Linked DNA regions of Homo sapiens: regions 1, 2 and 3 are each linked to region 4. Evidence: promoter capture Hi-C in 16 types of primary human blood cells and fetal thymus (Javierre and others, 2016). All regions are on one chromosome and are shown on one strand. Each heading gives the region's core, a stretch centred on a gene start or on the middle of the fragment in contact. The rest is flanking DNA. Distances are from core to core; before and after follow the strand shown. Region 1 overlaps ATXN1 (ataxin 1). Region 2 holds the start of ATXN1 (ataxin 1). Region 3 has its middle 88 kb from the start of STMND1. Region 4 holds the start of TPMT (thiopurine S-methyltransferase).

The links. The method cuts DNA at HindIII sites, captures the fragments that hold promoters and counts their contacts. A CHiCAGO score of 5 or more calls a contact.
Region 1: a contact is called between a fragment that was not itself captured here and the fragment with the promoter of TPMT in region 4, in 1 of 17 cell types (fetal thymus). The highest score is 5.0, in fetal thymus.
Region 2: a contact is called between the fragment with the promoter of ATXN1 here and the fragment with the promoter of TPMT in region 4, in 6 of 17 cell types (naive CD4 T cells, total CD4 T cells, total CD8 T cells and 3 more). The highest score is 18.4, in naive CD4 T cells.
Region 3: a contact is called between a fragment that was not itself captured here and the fragment with the promoter of TPMT in region 4, in 1 of 17 cell types (total CD8 T cells). The highest score is 5.6, in total CD8 T cells.

What each region holds. Positions count from the first base shown.
Region 1 is chr6:16,480,778-16,483,477 of GRCh38, forward strand. All of the region lies in intron 6 of ATXN1 (ataxin 1), which reads right to left. Among named protein-coding and RNA genes, the nearest start is that of GMPR, 240 kb to the left of the region's middle. The HindIII fragment of the contact is 886 bases long and covers 873-1,758 here.
Region 2 is chr6:16,760,010-16,762,709 of GRCh38, forward strand. ATXN1 (ataxin 1) reads right to left here and starts at 1,451. Exons shown (of 8, transcript NM_001128164.2): 1 at 1,289-1,451. ATXN1-AS1 (ATXN1 antisense RNA 1) reads left to right here and starts at 1,129. Exons shown (of 3, transcript NR_136240.1): 1 at 1,129-1,157; 2 at 2,110-2,270; 3 at 2,343-2,700. RefSeq lists silencers at 1-218, 229-708, 779-908, 1,385-1,544, 1,552-1,767 and 1 more and an enhancer at 1,905-2,700. The HindIII fragment of the contact is 4,299 bases long and covers 1-2,700 here.
Region 3 is chr6:17,012,754-17,015,453 of GRCh38, forward strand. No RefSeq gene overlaps it. Among named protein-coding and RNA genes, the nearest start is that of STMND1, 88 kb to the right of the region's middle. The HindIII fragment of the contact is 1,176 bases long and covers 758-1,933 here.
Region 4 is chr6:18,153,744-18,156,470 of GRCh38, forward strand. It overlaps TPMT (thiopurine S-methyltransferase), which reads right to left and starts at 1,334. Exons shown (of 9, transcript NM_000367.5): 1 at 1,290-1,334. KDM1B (lysine demethylase 1B) reads left to right here and starts at 1,679. Exons shown (of 22, transcript NM_001364614.2): 1 at 1,679-1,828; 2 at 2,140-2,183. RefSeq lists a silencer at 1,380-1,939 and an enhancer at 2,380-2,619. The HindIII fragment of the contact is 1,618 bases long and covers 602-2,219 here.

The DNA of each region.
Region 1 (2,700 bases), core at 66-2,565, 1.7 Mb before region 4:
CACAACGTCTGGGTGTTCTTTGCATTTTCCTCCTCCTCTCCAAGATGCTGAGAGGAGGAGCTGAGTACTTGAGGAAGAAGGTGCTGAGGGGAAAGGGTGTGCCTGGGATGGGCTACGCTTTGTCAGTTGCCTCAGGAGGTAGCTCTGACACCACTTCTTAGAAGCAGTGACTCCTGCAAAGACCCTGCCAAAGGTGCCCATCCCAAATAACACACCAGGGGCAATGGCCAGGAACTAGTGAAGCTGTCAATCAGAAGCCATTCAAGGAAGTCTGAGGAAGAGAGAGAAATGGGTGAAAGAGAAAACTCTAGAAGACTTGAAGCTATCCCCAGTGCACTTGGATGGAATGAGCTCAGTCATAACCTCTCTGCCTTTACAATCTGTAGGTCAATCTGCAGGAGCATTACAAGCAAGGATTTAAGAAAAAGGAGATTGTTCTCCCTCACTTGTCCAAAAGTGGTGGAATCTCCCCTTCTCTCCTGACCCTCTTATCTACTTCAGATTTTTTTTTTGTAACGCTGGAGAATTTGGTATCACAGATGGCAAATCTAAAAGGTACAAACTGACAGACACAGAGGGAAATTCCCAGATTGCTCTTATTAGAGTGTGCGTGTGTGTGCAATTCTCTTAGTCTGGAGATTCAGAGTAAGAGAAATTCAGCTCCCATTTTTTAAGACTTACACAGACAGCATAATGCTGTTTACACAGGTACAGAGGTATTTATTTTAGTCTCTCCATTTCTTCCTAGGAATAAAGTAATGCCTGCACTCAGAGCAGTTATTCTGAAAAGGGAGTCCATAGACACACAAAATTCCAGAAACCTTTATTATTGCTGTCCTCAAAAGCTAACTAGCACAATGCCTCCCTAAGAAAGCTTTTGTGAACTTCCCATCACACACCACAGAGACATTAAATGGGTTTCATTTGTACCAGCACACCATTTTTTCATTCTAAGGTGTGCACTAGAATGAAGTGTTATTCAGTCAGCCCCTTTCTAGGGAGATACAGCACTTCAGGCCCATCCCTACTTTGAAAAGAAATATGAACGTAAGCAGTGATGAAATGATGTGATGATAAGAGACAAAACCACCGCCGTTCACAGAAAGCCAGGGCAGGATGCTCACAAACAAGTGACAAAGCAAACCACTCAAATGGAAAAGGAGAGGAAATACAGACAGTGCAGACTTTTAAAAAAAGTATTAGAAAATCCCCAAACTCTACTGATAGGTCTAGAATTTTTTTTTTTTTACACAAATTGTTCCCTCCTCACATTTCTTTATACACATCAAGTATCCACTTCTAAGGAAAATAGTCTAGACTCTCCATCCCTTCCCCACACCCTTAAACTGCTATCAGATTCAAGCATTCTCATCAGAACAGCATGTATGTTCCTTTTCCTAATGGCTCAGGCCCACACATGAGAGGCATTCACTTAGTGAATGTCATTTAGGCATTCACTCAATGAATATTTACTGACTGCCCATTATGGGAACAAGCAGTATTTTAGGTACTATTCATTCACCAGGGAAGAATAAGAATGAGAATAAGGATAAGAATACCATCCCTCCTTTTGCAGAGCTTGCAGACTAGTTGAGGAGACTGATGATTAACAAATAAATATATAATATGTAAGGTGCTTAAAAGAAAAACACAGAAGGCTAGAGGACTGAGAGGGATGGGGTGGATGCTATTTTATGTAGATCAGGGAAGGCTGCTTTGATAAGGTAACTCAAGAATTCCTACTTAAGGAAGCAGAGAAGCTTAGGAATGAAATATGGATCACTTTCTCCTTGCTTAGACTCTAACCAATATTTGAGCACAGAGGTGGTTTTAGAAAACTCAAGTTCAAAAATCGTTCCTGTTTATTTTCAAAAGGACCAATGAGTGTGGACCCTAAATTTAAACAGCTAAAGCTATAGTCTAAGGACAGTCTCAAATAAATACCTTTGAATTGTCATATGGTGCCCAGGAGGGTCTTGTGGAAAGGGTTTCATGGTAGTGAAAGATGTAATAACTCTTTTTTTCTTTTAACCCTAAGACTGTGCTCAATGTTTTAAAAACAGTTGTAAATGAGGTAGTGCCAAATCATTGATTTTTAGGAACCCAAGAAGGTAAAATAAACGTTCAATTGGCCTCATCTAAGGCTGATACTTTATGCAACTTGAGACACTTAGGGTAAAAACCACCACTGGAGGTGATTTAACTCAATTTTCTCAAGTTGTCCATCATAAAATGAGTCCCCATGGTAGAGAGGACCCAAGGTTATATGGCTAACAACAGCATTGTGCATAAAATCCAGGTCTGCTAACTCTGAGTTCAGTGTCAGCATCATTCTCTTCTTGTACAAGATCCCCCCTCCCCCCAGCCCTTACAGCCAGTCTGAAACATCTTCAGGGGCAAAGGCCATCTGCTGGCAAGTGGTGGCAGATTTGAGAGGCAGTTAATGGGACATGCACAGGAATGAATGCCAGGAGTAACATCTGCAAGGACTGCTGAGCATGGGAACCACTACTTCCAATGGCTGCTGTGATTATCACTCACACATTTATACACCCACTCCTAGACCCTGTTTATGTGCAAACATGCATTCTTTGAAAATTGCCTGCCTTCTCTACTGCAACAGTTCTCCATGGCACAGGCTTTGGGGCATGCAGGACACTAAACCCAGGAAGACAGAAAACCAGTGTTGTAAACATGTGC
Region 2 (2,700 bases), core at 201-2,700, 1.4 Mb before region 4:
ACTCACACACTCACTCACACTCACGCCGCGCTCCGACACCGCCTCACCTCTCGCTCCGCCCGTCCGGCCCCCTTCCCTGCCCCCTGCGGGACCGGCCTGCGCGCAGCACTGGAACCACGTAGGAGGAGGCGGCGGCGCCCCCGGGAGTGGCAGAGTCTCCGGCCCGGCCCAGAGTGAACGAGCAGTGGGGCTCCAGGGCGCATCCCAATCCCCGCAGCGCCTCCTCCGCGGCGGCCGCCGCCTCCTCCTCCTTCCCCTCCTCCTGGCTTCATTCACCCTCCCAGCAGCCGCGCAGCCGTTCACTCCCGGCTCAGGGCAGCGCCTGCCGCGGCTCCTCGTCTCCTGCCGCGGGTGCTGGCGGGGGCGCCGGCCCGGACTGGGGCGCTCGCGGGCTCCCGGCTCCGGGCGGCGGCTGCCGCTGCACATGATCAGGAAGCGGCCGCACCAACAGGGCGGCGGTGGCGGCGGCGGCCAGGGCCGTCACCGCCACTCCAGCCGCGCTCCAGGCACCCGCACACCCGCTACCCCCGCGCGGTCCCCGAGGCCACCCCTCTGCGCCCCCCGCCCGGCACCCGGCCGCGCGCAAAGTCCCGTCCCGGCTGCAGGAGCAGTCCCTTCCCCGCCCGCAGCCGCACACCCGGCGAGGCCGGCCCTCCGAGGGGAGACCCCCGCCCCAGGGCGCCGAGGCCGGGCGACCACCCGCGGAGAAGTCCAGCCCTCCGTGAGACCCCCTCTCTCTCACCGCCCTCTCCGGGGAGGAGGAATGGGAAGAGGGCGGCCGGGAAAGGGACCACCCCCCAACCCCAGCCGCCGCCTCCCCCCTGCGCCACCCGGAGGGAGGAGGACATGGCTCTCCGCACTTGCGACCGGACCAGCAGCCGGGGGAGCGGGGCGCCGCCGCCGCTCTCCCCGCCCGCGCCCCCCGCCCGGGCGCGCCCCCTAGCCCGGCGGGCGCCCACCCAGCCCCTGACAGCCCCCCCGCCGGCCGCCCCTGCGCCCAGAGTGGGGGTGTCGGCCCGGGAGCCTGGAGCCGGGGACGGTTGTATGTACACACATACACACACACACACACACACACGCACACACACAGAACACGACGCGTCGATTTCCTTCGCTCCTCTTCCAGCTGTTTTCCGTGCAGCCGATTGGGGTTTTGGGTTTGTTTGCTGGTTGTTGCTTTTGCCCCTCTCGGGAGATCGGGGGAGGAGGGATTTTAATCTAAATAAGGGGAGAAGGGAATGGGGGAGGGGGGAAAGAATCGGAGGAGGAAAAAAAAATAGTCACTTACTGTAAAGTGTAAATGGATCTGGGGTTGCGTGGGGAAGGGGGGGCAGAGGGAGAGAAACAATGTCTTGCGGCTGCTGTTGCTCTGGCTGCTGCTCCACGGGGCTTGTTTTGGATCCCCCTGCAGTGAAACAGGTCCTGTACGGCTCCGCCACTGTAGTAGAAATGATGTCTGCGGTATACTCTGCTCTCTCCTCCTCCTCCTCCTCCTCCTCCTCCCCCTCCTCCCGCTCCCCTCCCCTCCCTCCTCCCTCCGCCCGCCCGCCCTCCCTCCCTCCCTCGCGCTCTCTCGCGCTCGCTCGCTCGCTCGCTCCAGTATGTAAATGTGTAATAGAAGCCAAATATGGAGCAGTTGGCTGCCGCCGCCGCAGCTCAAGGATCCGACTTCATGGGGGTGGGGGGCACCCTCTGGCGGGCGGCCCGGCGAGCCGCACAGAGCACGGCGAGCGCACCGCGCGGCGGCCGGCCCGCGCCCTTAACCCTTCGCTGCGCGCCGCCCGGGGAGGCGGGCACCTTTCCCAAAGAGTGGCTCGGGATGGGGTGCGGGGGAGGGGAGACGCGGACCGGAGGGCAAGGTTCCTTCCAGGTTTGGGAAGGGGGCGGGGAGCTGGGCGATGAGGTAATTTGAGCGGTGACGGGTCGGTCCTCGCGCGCCTCCCTGGGTCCCTGCACCTAGTTGGAGGGGACTGAACGACAACGGGGCGCTACTCAGGCAACCTGGGGGACTCCCCCAAGGGCTGTCAGGCTTCAGCTGGGAGCCGATGCAACACCCCAGCGGGGAGGGGAGGTCGGCCCATTCTAATCCCGACGTGTCCTTGGTCCCAGGCGCTCGGAGCAGCATCTGAGAGGGCTCACTCTGATCATCAGCTGCACGTTAAGCCACAAACCGGCGTCGCTTCGGCGTTCCGGAACCCAGGCCTGGGGGCCGCGGGGATTGCCTCTGCGTGCAACTCCGGAAAGTTTCAAGGGGTCCCCCGACTGCACAGGTACCCTCACCTTTCCTGCCGGCGAACGCTGGCGACCGCCCGACCCTGCCCTCTTTCTCTCTTCGCACGCAGGTCCGGAAATCGGCTTTGATATGGAACTACTCCGCTCTAGCCTGGAAAGGAGACCCGCGCACTCCTCTCGCAGCTAATTTCGGATCATTAATTTAATCGGAAATGAGGTAACCAGTGTAGGAGACAGAGAAAGCAACCGGAGCATCAAATGGCAGTTCTCGAGAATCGACGAGGAACTTAAATCTGGACTCAGGGTTTCAGTGCGGTCTCCGACTCCCACCACCCCGCCCCTCCGCCTGTCTCGCCGCCAGGTGTGACCTCCACGCGAAGGAATCTTCTTCGGATGGGTGCACCTTGCCAACAGGTGTGGCACCTGGAGGACTAGGAGGCGCCTCCAGACTAAGGGCGCTCAGTGCGG
Region 3 (2,700 bases), core at 96-2,595, 1.1 Mb before region 4:
CAGAGGCATCTACTTTGCCTGGAGGAGAAGGAGGATTGTTAAAGCAGGAATTTAAAAAGCAGGAAACAGTCAATGTTCAGTGTTTCTTTTTTTAAAAACTTCTAAACAGGATTTTGAATATCTGAAGATATGTCCTGAGGGAATCAGAGAACAGAGTTTAGACCGTAAAAATAACAGAAGAAAGAGGATGAAAGAAAATGAAGCCTCCCCTCCCTACCCTGCGTGTAAGTGGAGATTGGGTGGAGGAGCAGGAACGTGATGGGGGAGGGAAGTGCATGGCCTTAGAGGAGGTGGGAGTGGGAATGAGAGGCCAACCTAGCAGGACAAACACACAGCAGTGGGGCAAGCATCAGAATCGCTAACTGTATAGTGAACAACACCAGGATTCATGTTAAAGCCCAACCAATGCCTGCTAACCATTCATTGCCATTCTAGGGCATACCACACAGTACCCCAAAAGGGTGCATCTTCTCCTTGACAGTTTCCATTATAATACGTAAATTGTTGCTTTCTCATTGAAATGTGTGGGTTGCTGCTCCCTTCCATTTATCAAGCGCTTGGAATACTCCTAAGTTTTTCCTCCAACAGAAGGTGATGGGACCCTGACACCCAGGAATGAAATGGTGGAATGGAAGGGACAGTGCCCAGCACTAAGACTGGGGTATAACTGGACGGCAGTGAGAATCATTCCTATCACACGCTTATTGCACAGTGTGCTAATAATTTCCTTGCTTTTCCTATCTCCCACGAGACTGTAAGCTTATAAGGGCGGAAATCATATTGATTTTGGTCAATATTATGCCCAGTGCCCACTGCAGTGCCTAGCACATTGTGAGTGCTCAGTAGACACTGATTGGTTAAATCAACAATTTAATGAAGAATGAGTGGTTTTAAAGACATTGATTTTAAAAGACATGGATTTCCTTTAAGTAGAGAGAATATCAAGATGGTGATGGCTTTTTATCCTAAGCATCTAAGGCCTAACACTTTTAAAAAATTAAGCAAAGGGACTGCACTTTAATAATTTTTAAGTAATTTTAGACTTTCCTGCTCTGTTGTTAAGACTTTCCAGCCTTTGAGGCCTATTTATAGTCTCCTGTTACTCATCATTCGGAATGCCATATATATTTGGTATTTAAAATGATAAAGGCATTTGGAATGACATCTAGCGAGTTAGAATAAGAACTCACACCAGCATCAGCAAATTCCTTTCCTTCTATTGGCAAGAAAAAGTTGGCCATACAGGAAATTATTATGTGACACTGTTTCCCTTTGTACTTATGGTACAAACGGAAAGGTCAATGATGACCCTCCGAAGATGTCCATGTCCCAGTCCCCAGAACCTGTGAATGTTACCTTATATCACAAAAGGTACTTTGTGAATGTGATTAAGGATCTTGAGATTTTGGGTTCTCCAAGGGCATAATGAAATCACAAGAGTTCCTCTAAGAGGGCGCAGGAGGGTCAGAGTCAGAAAAGGAAATGCGAGGATGGCAACAGAGATTTGAAGATGTCATGTTGGTGGCTTAGAAGATGGAAGAAAATGCTTTGGGAGGCCAAGGCAGGCAGATCGTTCAAGCTCAAGAGTTTGAGACCAGCCTGAGCAACATAGTGAAACTGTCTCCACCAAAAATACAAAAACTTAGCTGGTTGCGGTGCAATGCACCTATAATCTCAGCTACTTGGGAGTCTGAGGTGGGAGAATTGCTTGAACCCGGAAGGCAGAGATTGCACTGAGCTGAGATGGTTCCACTCCGCACTCCAACCCAGGCAACAGTGTGACATCCTATCTCAAAAAAAAAAAAAAAAAAAAAAAAAAAAAAAGGCCGTGAAGTGCAGGAAGCTGCTATAAGCCAGCAAAGTTAAGCAAGCAGATTCTCCAGAAGGAATACAACCCTGATGACACCTTTTCATACTTTTTCTTTAATGTCAAAGCTTAAAAAAAATTGTCAAAAATTGAACATATTTAAGGTGTACAACATAATTATTTGACATATATGCATTGTGCAAGGATTGCCACAATCAAATGAAGTAATGTATCACCATTCATGCTGTACATCAAACCCTCAGAACTTCACACTTTTTTTTTTTTTGAGACGGAGTCTCACTCTGTTGCCCAGGCTGGAGTGCAATGGTAATCTCAGCTCACTGCAACCTCCACCTCCCAACCTCAAGCAATTCACCTGCCTCTCAAGTAGTTGGGACTACAGGCACATACCACTCCACCCAGCTAATTTCTGTATTTTCATTTGACACACGGTTTCACCGTATTGACCATGCTGGGCTCAAACTCCTGACCTCACAATCCGCTTGCCATAGTCTCCCACTGCACTGCAACTACAAGCATCACAACATCTTTTTTTTCCTTCTGGACAATCTGGCGCCATAGCCCAAACGGGAATGCAAAGACACGATCTCTACTCACTGTAGGTCTGACCAGAATTGGTGGACTCTTGGTCTCACTGACTTCAATAATGAAACCACAGACCCTCCCCACGTGTGTTAAAAGCAGTATGTCCAGTTTCTTCCGTTTGTTGTTTGGATGGGTTTAGTTTTTTCCTTCAGACTTAAGTGATAAATGATACAGCTCTCAAGGCAGCTTGTCTGGAGTTACTCATTTCTCCCTGTGGGTTTGTGGTTTCAAAGGCCTTAGGAGTGAAACTACAGATTTTTAAGGTGAGAGTTACAGCTCATATGTGC
Region 4 (2,727 bases), core at 84-2,583:
TTTCTCATTTTCATTCAGAAACTCTGGAACCTAAATTCAAGGCTTCATAAAGCAGTTCTCTACTTAAAAGAGAAGCATAATCTTTATCAGAGTTCCACAGCAGCCTGGAGTAGCACAACTCTATTCCTTTCACACAAACTTGAACTGTCTAACAAAATCATGCACATAACTTAATCATGTCTTAGTTGTTTGTTTTTGAGACAGGGTCTCTCTCTATCCCCCAGGCTGGAGTGCAGTGGTGTAATGACACTTCCGTCTCCAACACTGGGGCTCAAGCGATCCTCTCACTTCAACCTCCTGAGTACCTGGGACTATAAGGGTGCACCACCATGCCTGGCTAATTTTTAAATATTTTGTAGAGACAGGGTCTTGCTATGTTACCCAGGCTGGTCTCAAACTCCTGGGCTCAACGTCTTAGCTGTTCTAACAGTTTCTCAGCATGGACTCCACTTGTATACATCATTTCTAGAGAAATAAAGTTTATTTCTATAATACAAAAAAAGTGCACATTACAAGAATTAAGGAAGGGAAATTTCACAAAAATTTCTGCCCACAAACAAAGTCCTCAAGTTGTTCTAGTCTCCATTCTCACCTTTTCAAAAGCTTCTGCTATAGTTTTGTTTTTAAATTTCATAAAATTGAGAAGAAACTTTCCTAAGGTGCACACATCTTAAAAGAGTATGACTCGGTGAATTTTTTACATATACATACACCTGTGTAACCACCGCAGAGCAAGACAGAATATTTACAGCACCCCAGTTTCCCACATCACCAGGGATCACTCACTATTTGGCAGTACTTATTTTTTCCCAAAAATCACTAATACACCAGGCTGGGGAAAAAACCGAGAGTCCGTTTCTATAAAAAAAAATTTGAAAAATTAGCCAAGCGTGGTGCAGCGAGCCTGTAGTCCCAGTTACCGAGGAGGCTGGGGCGGGAAGATCACTTGAGCCCAGGAGTTCCAGGTTACAGTGAGCTATGATTGTGCCACTGCACGCTAGCATGGGCGACAGAGGGAGACCCTGTCTCTAAAAGAAAAAAGAAAAAAAAATAATTAAAACACACCAGTGCTTTGGAAGCACTTTAAATCCTGGACATTGGATTCAGGTCATTTACTGTCCGACCTCGTTATTCCCAGTTTCCGCTTCTGCCCTGAACCCCACTTCACAGGGCTGATTGCTAGGCTGTCTACGCTTGTAAGAATTCCTGGGAGCCCTAGCACGGGCGCATACACTCCTAGCAAATCGTTCCCTTTCTCACCCGCACCCTCCGCGCCCGAGTGAGCCTACCTCGCTTACAGCTGGTTGCCGGCCATTGCCTCCGCCACCAATGACGTCCCCAGGGGCGGGTACGCCTCCGCTTCCACCTCCGCCACTTCTCCGCGCCCCGCCTCCGCCCGCGCCCCGCCTCCGCCCGCGCCCCGCCTCCGCCCGCGCCCCGCCTCTTTCCCGCGCCCCGCCTCTTTCCCGCGCCCCGCCTCAGTTCCCGCCCCCTCTCCCGGCGCCCCGTCTCCACTCCCGCCCCGTACCTCGTTGCACAGACTCCACCCACTTCCCCAAGCGCCGGGGTTTGCGCAGCGGCGGAAATGGGCAGGGCGGAGCGAGCGCTGCGGCTAAAGCGAAGGCGGGGACCCTACCCATCCCTAGTCCTGTCGGCTCCTCCCACCCCGGGTCACGCCGTGACAGGGGCGGAAGCGGCGGCGGCGGCGGCGGCCGAGAAGAGGCTGGGGCTCGCGGCGCGGCTGCAGCCGTCCTGTGCGCGCGGCGCGCGGCTCCGGAGAGGCGCCCGCAGTCCAGGGCGGCGCGCACCGCCTCGCTGGCGCTCAGAGGTGGGAGGCTCCCCACTCCGGGGGCGTGCGTGGGGGCCGTGGCGGATTTCGGGTGACAGCGTTGCACAAAGCAGCTTGGTTGGGGTGCAAGCCCTCCCTTTCCCCCTGTGCAGCGCCCCTCGCCGTGGTGGGAGGTGGGCGGGTGCCCCAGGGACGGATACCTCCTGCCCCGGATTAAAAGAGGGTGCGGGGTGGGTATCTGTCTGAAGAAGGGGGAATTCCCGGGCTAGGGTGTTGGGGCGTGGGGTCGCCGGGTTCGTCGCGATGTTGCCGGTCGGCTAACCCCCCTACAATGTTTCCTTTCTGTACAGCGGTGCCTTTTCCCCGAGACTCCCGGCACCTCTTCAGCGCAAAGGTGAGCCCCGGGGCAGTTGCTTCTCCGACTTCGAAAAGCTTCCGAAAGCTTCTCGGAAAGCGAGGCGGCTGCAGCTGGCACCGGGAGTTTGGGGCTCCCTCCTGGGGACTGTCAGAGCCGCGGGAGAACCCCACGGTCCTGGAGTAGGAACTCCCTCGCTTGTTCTTCCCGGCCGATAGGGTGCGGCCAGGAGCCCGCACAGCCTTGCAGGTGTTGTAGTAATTCTCTGGCACAGCCACCACGCGTTGAGACTTGATGAGCATTGCCAGGTTGCTGGGGTAACTCCTCTGGGATTGGAGACCTGGAGGAGGGGTGGCCCGATTAGGGTAGCTGTTAGTCAACGGCCGGGCAGCTGACAGGTGAAAGAGGAAGGAAGAGGCCGACCCAGCTGTAGAAAGTTGGGGTTCAGTGATGTGGAAACCAGCCACATAGAAGTCCAGTCTTCCCTTGGGTAAGCCTGCAGGACTCCCCAGTCCACTCCAGTTGGGGAATCCCCCACACCACGTATACACACATAACTCAAGGCTTTGACCAGTTTTGTTTT